Linked DNA regions of Homo sapiens: region 2 is linked to region 1. Evidence: promoter capture Hi-C in 16 types of primary human blood cells and fetal thymus (Javierre and others, 2016). All regions are on one chromosome and are shown on one strand. Each heading gives the region's core, a stretch centred on a gene start or on the middle of the fragment in contact. The rest is flanking DNA. Distances are from core to core; before and after follow the strand shown. Region 1 holds the start of FBXL22 (F-box and leucine rich repeat protein 22). Region 2 overlaps SNX1 (sorting nexin 1).

Region 1 (4,320 bases), core at 311-2,810:
TTTGGGGCATTAAGCTCGGTTCTCTTACAGTAAGAATGGAACAACTTCAGGACATGTTGTGCCATTCGCCTCCCCCCAACCCCCACCCATGTCACTCTAGTCTAATTCCTGGGCCTTGTTAAGCCCATCAAAATAGCCTTGTCCAGTCGGGGCCCAACCCCAAGTCCATCTTCTGTTTTCTTCCTACCAGCTCAAAAGAAAGGTGGGGTCACTACGCTGTTTCCTTCCACTCCTGTCGTGCTGCCAGCAAATAGCAGCTATGAACTTGGGTGGCAGTAAACTGGCTGAGTCTAGTTTTCCATGAACAGCCAGGGCCAGTTTGTTATATGATCAAGGGGGTGTTTTTCCTCAAAGGCAGCACGGGACTGGCAGAAGCTCAGTGAGAGGCTGGTTGAATAGCTCTGTGTTCTTGCCTGGGCCGCTCTGCCCATGAGGCTGGGACCATGGAGGGAGCCTGGCCTGGTGGTTCAGTGTCTATGTCTGTGTCTGGGGTGGGGGTTAGCAGATAAACACAAGATGTATTTGGGACATACTTACACTAAAATATTATTCACTGTTTATCTGAAATTCATATTTAACTGGGCAGCCTATATATTTGCTAAAATCTGGCAACCCTAGACTGGGCAAATCATACCACCTCGTGGAGCATCAGTTTGCTAATTTGAAAAATTAGGCTAAGCCACCCTCCTTAGGAATACTGTGTAAATCAGTAATTCATCTACTCCTGGAGTCTGGTTTGGCTCAGCTGACCTGAGCACCCTGGCTTCTCCACCTCTGGCTCCCCACCCTCTCTTTCCTCCGTAGTTTCCCAGGCCTTGAGGGCTGCTTGCTAGGCCTAATGGAGGGGTGAGCTGATTGCTGCATCTGGAAGCCTTTTCCCAGAGCCTGACCTTGAAAATCCAGGCCCAGCTGGACCCACCCAGCACTTAATGACTACCAGTACGGAGGCCCCACTTCTTGGTGTTTGCATGAAGCAGCCCAGGACCTGTGAGGCTAAGAGGAGGATTAGCAATTGTTTCCCTCATGATTTTATTGTCTCCTGGGGACCCTGCTTTGGGCGGTCTGGATGTCTGCCTTGGGCCTAGTTTGAGGCGCCCCGAAGGTGGAGCCATCTTGGTCTCGTAATTTGCTCTTCCCTGCCCCCCAAGAGGGAAGCCAGAGCTAGCGGGGCCAGCACTGCTCAGGAGGCAAGGTGGCCTACCTGTCGCACACCCGGAGGAGGAAATCATTGACCAGGCTCTCGTGCCGGCTGCAGATGCTTCTCTGGAAGGCACTCTTGAGCCAGTCCTCAATGCTGCACACCTGCACGCGGCTGGAGTGCCAGCAGATGGAGAGGCTGCGGAGTGCCGGGCCCAGGAGGAAGTTGTCCTTCTGGAGTTCAGTGAGGGAACGGAAGTGCAGCAGGGACCAGAGTGCGGGGTCCTCAAACACGTCGTGGAGCTGGGAGCAGGTCCTGGCAAGGCTCTTCCTGCTGTCCTTGTCTAGGAAGGAGAAGAGGTGCAGCAGGCACTCCCGGTTGAGCTGGGTTATGTGCATGGTGAGCAGTGGCCACATGTGAGTGCAGCTGCAGCCGGGGGACGGCTGACCTGCCTCCTCTCCTCCTCCCCGACTCTGGGCCGGTGGACATATATGGTTGAGGAATGGTGTTTATTTTTGGCTAACAACTGGTGCTGAAGCTCTGCGGAGGGGTGAGGGAAGAAAAGCCAGGACCCAGACACATGTGCGGCAGTCTGTGGTTCGGCTTATGTTCAGAGGGATTGGAGGTCCTGGCAGAAAAGGAGCCTATTGAAGTTACTTTCCTTAAAAGGGATTTTTTTTTTCCCTTTAGCTGACAATGGTGTTTAGCAGTGAGCACTTTTGGCTTTTCCCAAGGCGTTTTCATTGGCAGTGGTGGCGGCCAGGCCAGCTCTGTCTGGCTTTGCAGTCTGTACTTAGGGGGAAGGAGTGTAATTGTAAATGTTAACTGTTTTGATTTTCTAGTACATCAGTGTGAATCTTTTGCTCCACCCTTACTAGGAAGAAACCTGTTGCGTGTGGAGAGCTAAGGGTGACGGTTGTGAGTTGTGAGCAGAGTCCATGGCTGCTGCCTCATTCCTGTTATTTTTGTGCCATAGAGTAATTGTCTCCAGGCTAGGCTGGTTGGCCTTCAAGCCCTGCTGCCTGCCACTAGGCAGGGGGATTTTCCTGGGCCTCCCCAACAGCTAGATTTTTACCCTGAGTTGTTTCATAAAAGAATTTTACTGAAGTAGCTGCTTTCCAAAGTTGTGTGTCTGTGTTTTATGTTTTATTGGTGCTTTGTTGTTGTTGTTGTTGTTTTTGTAGTTTTGGTCAAGCAGTACTTTCTGTGTTTTAAATTTAAATTTACTTGGCTTTACATTTTCTCACTGATAAGGCCTTGTACTATGTATAACCTGTACTTCCCAAAATGTCAGGATGGATGAGGTAGCTCTTAATGTGAAACTGCTTGAAACAATTTTAAGTTCAGTATTTTAGTCCATCTTTGCCTTTAAGTTGACCACACACCATCCATTCTATGAGTGCCCTCCGTTCCCTCTTGGAGAAGCCAGTGGGCCACCCCTGCCCTCTCTGACTCAACTCTAGGCAAGGTGCCTGGAGGTACTATCCGTGAAGCTCCCCCTTCCTGAGTACCCGAGGCTTCACGATATGGCAGACCCGTTTCCTCATGCTGCTTCACTCCCAAACCCAGGACCCAACCTTAACTCTCCTGCTTTGAATCCCAGTCGTTGTTTTTTGGTTTGCTTGGGGGATGCTGATATGGTGCAGCTGTATAGGCCACGTTCTGCCTAGGCAATAGTGAGAAGAGAATGGTTTTTCCTCTGCCAGCCCAGGGACCACCACCTCAGTGGTTACTTCTGTTTGTTCTCCCATTTGGAATAAGAGGGAATGGGAATCCTTGTGTTTTCCCATAGACACAAATGAAGCAGCCTATGCTGAACCCACTTCTGGAACTAAGGTTTGGTCAGGGCTGGTGCAGCTTTGCCTTTAAAGCAGAAGGCAGTCAAGCAAAGAAGGAAGTAGCCATTGTCAGTGGCTTTCCTGAGAAGCCAGCCTCAGCTGGTGCCCCTGTGCCTCCATTACTCCACCATGCCAAGATGAAGTACAGTAGGGGGTTCTCTTAAAAACAAACCAAGGAGGTCGAAAGGAAGCATTTCCCAAGGAAGGGGAGCAAGATACTGCTGCTATTTCAAGCTCATCAATGTAGTTCTGAATTATAGCTGACACCCTAATTTAGGCTCTGTCTAGGTGTACTTCTCCACTTAAAATGGATGCTGCAAAACCACAGGTGGTGTTATTAGAAAGCCACATTATCTCCACTTTCCCTCCCCAATCCTCCTCAAACCAATGCTTTTCAGAGGGTTTGACCCTTAGGAATAGGTGGTTCTTTCCACTTCTTGCAAGGCCAGAGTGGTACTTGTGCCTTCCACTGAGTAAGTGTCACTGTGCTTCAGCATGGCTTCCAAGTTGCACTACTGCAGCCCAGCTGGAATGGCAAAAGATTGGCAGGGAGAACATTTAGAGCATTGCCCCTCTGCTGTTCCTCCAGGTAGGCTGCAGGAAGCATCCTAGACTACCAGGGCCAGGGGGAATGTGCTCCTGCATGCTGCAGAGGGTCTGAGGCACAGCCAGGAGATGACGAAGCTCTGCCCCTTTGGGCTTGTCCAGAGCTATGCTGTTTGGCAGCAGTGACAGCAACCACGCAGCCTCTGACCAGCACAGCTGCCAAAAGAATGTGCCCTACGGAACAAGGATGCATAACAATTTGAGCTGCAGGCACCTGTGTCTTCAATTTTAGAAGACTGACAAGAACAGGCAAAGGATGACTGTGGAAACAGGGTTCTGTCTGCAGGAGGCATGGGGGCAGGGAAGTAGTCTATAGGAACTTACTGTAAACAGGATGTTTATTTAAAAGCACTTATTTGCCTGTTTTACCTTAAAAGATGACCAGTATCCTTTGCTCAGAGCCCCAAAACTAGTGCCTCAGGGTAGAGTCTAGCTCTAAAGGGGAAGGGAAGGGGCCTCATTTTTATAAGATCAATAGTCACAAGAGACTGAGGGTGATTTCACTGGGCAAGGCCGAGTGGGACCTCAGGCACCTGACTGCAGGCACTCATCTCCAGGCCATCACTTTGCCCATACAGGTCACTTCATCCTGGCCCAGGTACTGCAGCTCCAAATCGTGGGGATTCTGTAAGAGCTTGCTACCTGTTGACTGAGGAGGCCCACGAGTTGAGTAAGTACATCATCATTTATGTGGCTCTACTGAAAAAAGGTGTTCAGAAATAAGTCAAAAGGAAAGAG
Region 2 (6,652 bases), core at 1,405-3,904, 520 kb before region 1:
TAAAAGTTGAATTCTAAATTATTTAGACGTGTGCAGGAACAAGAAGCACATGTTGAATAAACAGCCCACACAAACAGAATGCGTTGTTATAAAGATCAGGCCTTGAATATGAAAATATTTTAATTAGCTGGTTTCTTGGCATCAACATGACTAAGAATCTAGACTACAGGGCAAGGAGGTGAAAACTTATCACCAAGAGTGATTTGTGTTTAAATGCATCTGATCCATGGGCTGTTTAAATTACTCTCTGTAATGGGATAAATTGTGTCCCCTTCAAAATAGGTACATTTTACGTTCTAACTCCCAGTTCCTCAGAATGTGATCTTACAGGGTCTTTACCGATGTAACTGAGTTAAAATGAAGACATTAGGGTGGGCCCTACTCCACTCAGGTTGGTGTCCTTATTTGTTAAAGAGGGAATGTGCACACAGAGATAGACATGCATAGAGGGAAGGCAATGTGGAGACGCTTAGGAAGGATGCCACATGACAGCAAAGGCAGAGACTGAAGTGATGCATCGACAAGCCGAGGAAGGCCTGAGACTGCCAGAAGCTGGGAGAGAGGCATGAACAGTCCTTCCCTAGCACCTTCACAGGGAGAATGGCCTGCCGACACCAGGATTTGAGATTTCTGGCCTCCAAAACTGTGAGAAATTTCTGTTGTTTTAACCAGTTTGTGGTACTTTGCTACAGCAGCCTTAGGAAACCAGTATGTTCCCTCTCCTGGTTCAGACATCATGACTTATTACATTTTAAGAGAATAAGTGCCATTCATTCATCTTATTCCACCAAGGATTTAAAGCGGTGAATAACTAGCTTAAAATTAATGTGTTTATAGACTATCCATAAATATTAGAGAAGCAAGAGAGAATCTAGACATATAATCCAAAGTCCTGGTCCAGGATCTATCATGGGCCACACTGTGCCCTACCAGGAAAGCTACTTCCTTTTTGGTCCTCAATTTCCTTTTCTGTTAGATGACAGAACTGTGTAAGACGCTCAAAAACATCCTACCAGTCCAACAGTCTGGGAAAAGTAAAACTCAACAGTTCAAATTAAAAAAAAATTTTTTTTCTTTTTGAGACAGGATCTCACTCTGTTACCCAACGTGGAGTGCAGTAGTATTACCTCAGCTCACTGCAGCCTTGACCTTCCAGGCTCAAATGATCCTCCCACCTCGGCCTCCCAAGTACGTGGGACTACAGGCATGTACCGCCATGCCTCTGTAATTTTTTATTTTTTTGTAGAGACAGGGCTAATTTTTTACTTTTTGTAGAGTCATGGTCTTGCCATGTTGGGCAGGCTGGTCCTGAACTCCTGGGTTCAAGTGATCCTCCTGCCTTGGCCTTCCAAACTGCTGGGATTACACATGTAAGCCACTGCACCTGGCCTAAAATCAATAGTTTAATGACCACCATTTTGGCCAGAGACCAGGTTAGGCAACATGGTGAAACCCTGTCTCTACAAAAAATATAAAAAAATTAGCCAGGCATGGTGATGCACATCTGTAGTCCCAGCTACTCAGGAGGCTGAGGTGGAAGGATCACCTGAGCCTGGGGAAGTCGAGGCTGCAGTGAGCTGTGATCATACCACTGCACTCCAGCCTGGGTGACAGAGTGAGACCCCGTCTCAAAAAAAAAAAAAAAAAAAAAAAGACAACCATTTTGGCATAAAGTCTAACAAGTTCCTGTCCCTAGTACCAAACAGACCAAGAGTTGAGAATTACATTTGTCCTCTTAACTGTATAAACACCACTCCTGTTTAGGAAGACAGGTTCTGTATAGCCTCTTCCATAAGGGACTATAGCTAGAACAAGGAAAGATGAGGCCTATTGTTCTCCACTCAGGGATAACTCTTGCAAGCTTGGTAGAGGGGAAAGCCATCCTAAAAATCCAAGTCCAGACAAAGTTAAGTGTTATGCTTTTTGAAGATCTAACTTCAATTTTGAGTACAATTCAACTTGGATCCCACAGATAGACTTCCCCACCTCATAAGGTTATCAAAAGTATGTGTATAAATGAGAGTTTCAAACTTCTTGAGGGAAAAAATAAGTTCAGTGTCCCTCAATTTTAGAACATGTATTTTTTAGGGTGCTTACATTGGATTTACTATCTCAAAAGACAGTAAAATGGTCTTATCAACTCTGAAGGAGAAGATAATGTTTTTTGTGTGTGTGTGTGTGTTTTTTTTTTTTTTTAAGACACAGTCTTGCTCTGTCACCCAGGATGGAGGGCAGTGGCATGATCTCAGCTCACTGCAGCCTCCACCTCCCGGGTTCAAGCGATTCTCTGGCCTCAGCCTCCTGAGTAGGTGCGATTATAGGCGCACACCACCATGCCTGGTCAATTTTTGCATTTTTAGTATAGATGGGGTTTCACCATGTTGGCCTGGCTGAACTCCTGACCTCAAGTGATCTGCCTGCCTTGGCCTCCCAAAGTGCTGGGATTACAGGTGTGAGCCACCATGGCTGGCCTGTTGGGGTTTTTAAAAAGAGACTCTAGCTGGGTGCGGTGGCTCATGCCTGTAATCTCGGTGCTTTAAGAGGCTAAGGCAGGAGGATCACTTGAGGCCAGGAGTTTGAGACCAGCCTGGGCAACATAGCAAGACCCCATCTCTTAAAAAAAGAATTAGTCGGCATGGTAGCACGTGCCTGCAGTCCCAGCTACTTGGGCGGCTGGGGTGGCTCAGGCGGGAGGACTGCTTGAGTCCAGGAGCTGGAGATGATAGTGAGCTATGATAGTGCTACTGTGCTCCATTCTGGGTGACAAAATGAGGCCTTGTCTCTAAAAAACAAAAAACCAAAAGAATAAAAATAAAAAGGGATTCTAGTAGTATTTGATGACTCTGATTTTTCTTCCTGAAGCCAAGAAAAGACTGACTAACGCATTGAGTAACAGCAGTCTCTGGCCTTAGAAACATAGCAAGGGGTCTACTTTTACAGAAAAGATACTAATGAAGTACTTCACATTGGCTAGTTCAACTCTGGGGGTAGCCATCCTGAAATTAGCTACCTATGCTTTCCACAGCCACATCCTAACATCACAAGGAGTCCTAAGAACCACTTACCTATCTTCTCAGGATCAGTTATACCGACTGTCAAATCAAATTGATCCTCCTGTTCTTCTTCCTCTAGCTTTTTCAAGAAAAGACAAATCATGAGAGTTGATATGAAAAAAAAAGCTATCAATTTTACCCTGTAATAACCTTATACCAATCTAATAAAATCAAGATGTATCCTTCAGTGTTCAGCTTTTGTCCATTCCCAACAATCCCAATGTACCAACTCTCAAAATTTTAAATTAGGAGCCAGCTTACAAGTCTTTGTTACATGTATCCCCTTAAAATCTTATTTTGATGACAATGAATAACTGCCAGATTTAGAAAGACTTGCCTCTTGCAGGCTAGGAAGGGAGTGAGGAGAAACTATACTCCTGAATGTGGAAGCTTCGCACACTAAGTATCTTTAGTAACCACTGAAAGCCTTCGTGCTCTCTGGGCAATAGATACTCTGCTCAAGAAAGACTCCTGTATTGGATTCTGGCTGTCCATTAACCATAAAGATCTCCTTCAAGAGTAACAAATATTTTCTCAAGGTTCATACTCAACTACACTTCAGACTGGCCGTACACAGTCCTCAATATCTAAAAGCGATAAGACCAAGAGCACAGATCCTCACCTCCTCATAGGTTGGCTGGGGCTTCGAAGAATTTGTGGCTTCCTGAGGAGGAAGAGAAATGAGTGTTTTGGCTAGCACCTTCTTCTGATTATTTTGTGTGCTGTCCAAGGATAGCTCCACTGTGGCATCTAAAATGAAGTTGATATTTTAAAATGAAGGTCAGTAATGAGTCTTTGAAGGCTAAACTTGTATAGGCTAAGAACTTACAAGAACAATAGCAAGCACTCTCAATACATAGAGGCTCTTAGACTGAAAGTCATAAAATGTTTACAAGGAGAAAAGGGGAGGAAGGTAAGGGAAGTGTTCTTCTAGCACAGGCTTAGTAGAACAACCTCTCCTTCTTTCCAAATACAACCACTTGGCTACCCTCTCCTACCTAGAATTTATACAAGAACCAAGGATAAGCAAAAAGACAACACAGCCAAAATAAGTTTATCAATTTTATTTATTTTTTAGACAGAGTGTCACTCTGTCACCCAGGTTGGAGTGCAGTGGCACGATCTGGGCTCACTGCAACCTCCACCTCGCAGGTTCAAGTGATTCTCCTGCCTCAGCCTCCTGAATAGGTGGTACTACAGGTGCATACCACCACAGCCAGCTAATTTAGTCTGTCAATTTTAATCTTCGGAGTATTCCTTTAGAACATTATATGAGCCCTATTTATTCTTGTTATAATTGTTTGTAAAAGGCTGGGCGTGGCGGCTCATGCCTGTAATCCTAGCACTTTGGGAGGCCAAGGTGGGAGGACTGCCTGAGCTCAGGAGTTTAAAACCACCCTGGGCAACATGGTGAAACCCCGTCTCTACTAAAAATACAAAAAAACAGTAGCCAGGTGTGGTGGCCTGAGCCTGTAGTCCTAGCTACTGGGAGGTTGAGGCAGGAGAATTGTTTGAACTGGGGAGGCAGAGGTTGCAGTGAGCCGAGATCGCGCCACTGCACTTCAGCCTGGGCAACAGAGGGAGACTCTGTCTCCAAAAAAGAAAAAAAATTGCTTGTAAAAGAAGTTCAGATATTTGCTTTACACACCAATATGATAGAAGAGGCAGGCATACTGACAGGAAAAAAATGACGTCAAAGCAAGTGTCAGGAAAGCTATAAGCTAGAAAAAAATGGAGCCAAGACACAAGCACAGTAACATTTGGGAAAGGGCACTTTTCCACACCTGATGACAGCACTGTTATTTTGTCATGGTTTAAGAATTTTTCCTAATGGTTTAGATCTCCTTGTAAAGGTTAAATTATACTTACTATATGCTATCCAATTTGTGAAAAAAGACATGTAATATCTGAAAATCTTCCTACTCAAAACAGTTTAAAAAACAGTGCTTAAGGGCTGCCTTTGTCTATCTGGGGAGTACTCAGTTGAACAGAACGACTCATTCCCTCAGTGTTCCAGAGAAGGGACTTTAAAAATAGCATTATGTACCATTTCTAGGCATTAAAATTTTTTATGCAAATAAAAAGAATGCACTTTCAACTTGGAGCAGTGGAACTAGATGCTCTAAGCCTAAACAGTCCAAACTTTTTTTCTTTTTTAGTAACAGAAAACATAAATGTCAATTTGGGTTTGGTCTGATCAGTAAGTATTCTATCTTAATCTTAGGAAATACAAAGAATGCTGCTGCTTCTTTTTCATTTGGGGCTAAACGAAACCAGAGATGATGGTTTATGCATATATGCCTATAGCATAATCAAGTCCCAGATCAGTATTCTAATCACTAAATGTGAATCAAGTCTGCAAACAGGGGTGCCACACTGTTAGAAATGAAATCTGATCCCTATCAGGAAAGTGAGAAAGGTGGTAACATAATCTGACTCTGGGGTGGGAGTATAAAACAAACAAGCAAAAAAGTACAGTTGACCCTTGAACAACACAGGTTTCAACTGCACGGGTCCATTTATACATGAATTTTCCTCTGCATCTGCCACCCTGAGGCAGCAAGACCAACCCCTCCTCTGCCTTAGCCTACTTACTCAATGTGAGGATGCAAGAATGAAAACCTTTATGATGAACCACTTCCATTTAATGAAAGGTAAATACATTTCCCTTCCTATGATTTTCTTAATAACTTTCTTTTCTCTAGCTTACTTTATTGTAAGAATACAGTATATAATACATGTAACATACAAAAGACATGTTAATTGATTATCTTATTGGTAAGGCTTCCAGTCAACAGTAGGCTATTAGTAGGCTATTAGAAAAGTTTTGGGGAAGTTATAAACAAATTTTTGACTGCGCCTGCATTGTTCGAGGACTAACTATACATATAATGAACATGTTAGCATATTAGAAGTCTCTGAAACAAGCAACCAGTTGAAGTATGCGTAGGATATTCACATCATGCAGGTCCCACACAAATAATTCAGTTAACAAACATGTTTGGAAATGAAACAGGAAGTATCACTCATCTAAAATATTTGGCCCTTTAGAAAGCTACTAAAAACCTTTTGCCAGCTTGGGCAACATGACAAAAGCCTGTCTCTACAAAAAATAAAACCAAACAAACATGCGAATATTAACAGGCATGGTGGTGCCCACCTGTGGTCCTAGCTACTCAGAAGGTTGAGGTGGGAAGATCACTTGAGCCTGGGAGGTCGGGGCTGCAGTGAGCCATGACCACACCACTGCACTCCAGCCTGGGCAACAGAGTGAGACCCTGTCTCAAAAAAAAAAAAAAAAAAGCCTTTTGAAGAGCTGTGCATCTTCTACTGAAATTCATGTGACAAAGATGCCAAAACTTATATTAAAACATGCTTTTCTCTTTGAACTCCTGTTAAGAGTACTGGAAAAGCATTCAGGCTCCATGAGAGACTCTGATCATCACTAGATTTATTATTTAAAAATGATATCAGAACGTTTAAGTTTCCACAGTCAAATACCTAAAACAACTGAGAAGCTACTGAAGTCCTAAACTAAGTGTCTCATTGTAGACTTTCCATTCTAGAGATACCTTATGTTCCTTTCTTAGAAGTGAGGC

What was found. The method cuts DNA at HindIII sites, captures the fragments that hold promoters and counts their contacts. A CHiCAGO score of 5 or more calls a contact.
Region 2: a fragment that was not itself captured here is called in contact with the fragment with the promoter of FBXL22 in region 1 in 2 of 17 cell types (total CD4 T cells and naive B cells); the score reaches 5.5 in total CD4 T cells.

Annotation. Positions count from the first base shown.
Region 1 is chr15:63,594,627-63,598,946 of GRCh38, reverse strand. It overlaps FBXL22 (F-box and leucine rich repeat protein 22), which reads right to left and starts at 1,560. Exons shown (of 2, transcript NM_001367807.1): 1 at 1,202-1,560. The coding sequence starts at 1,554. USP3-AS1 (USP3 antisense RNA 1) reads left to right here. Exons shown (of 3, transcript NR_034080.1): 2 at 4,161-4,252. USP3 (ubiquitin specific peptidase 3) reads right to left here. Exons shown (of 15, transcript NM_006537.4): 15 at 4,314-4,320. RefSeq lists an enhancer at 4,192-4,241. The HindIII fragment of the contact is 9,685 bases long and covers 1-4,320 here.
Region 2 is chr15:64,115,268-64,121,919 of GRCh38, reverse strand. It overlaps SNX1 (sorting nexin 1), which reads right to left. Exons shown (of 15, transcript NM_003099.5): 3 at 3,676-3,803; 4 at 3,066-3,132. Among named protein-coding and RNA genes, the nearest start is that of SNX1, 23 kb to the right of the region's middle. The HindIII fragment of the contact is 1,582 bases long and covers 1,864-3,445 here.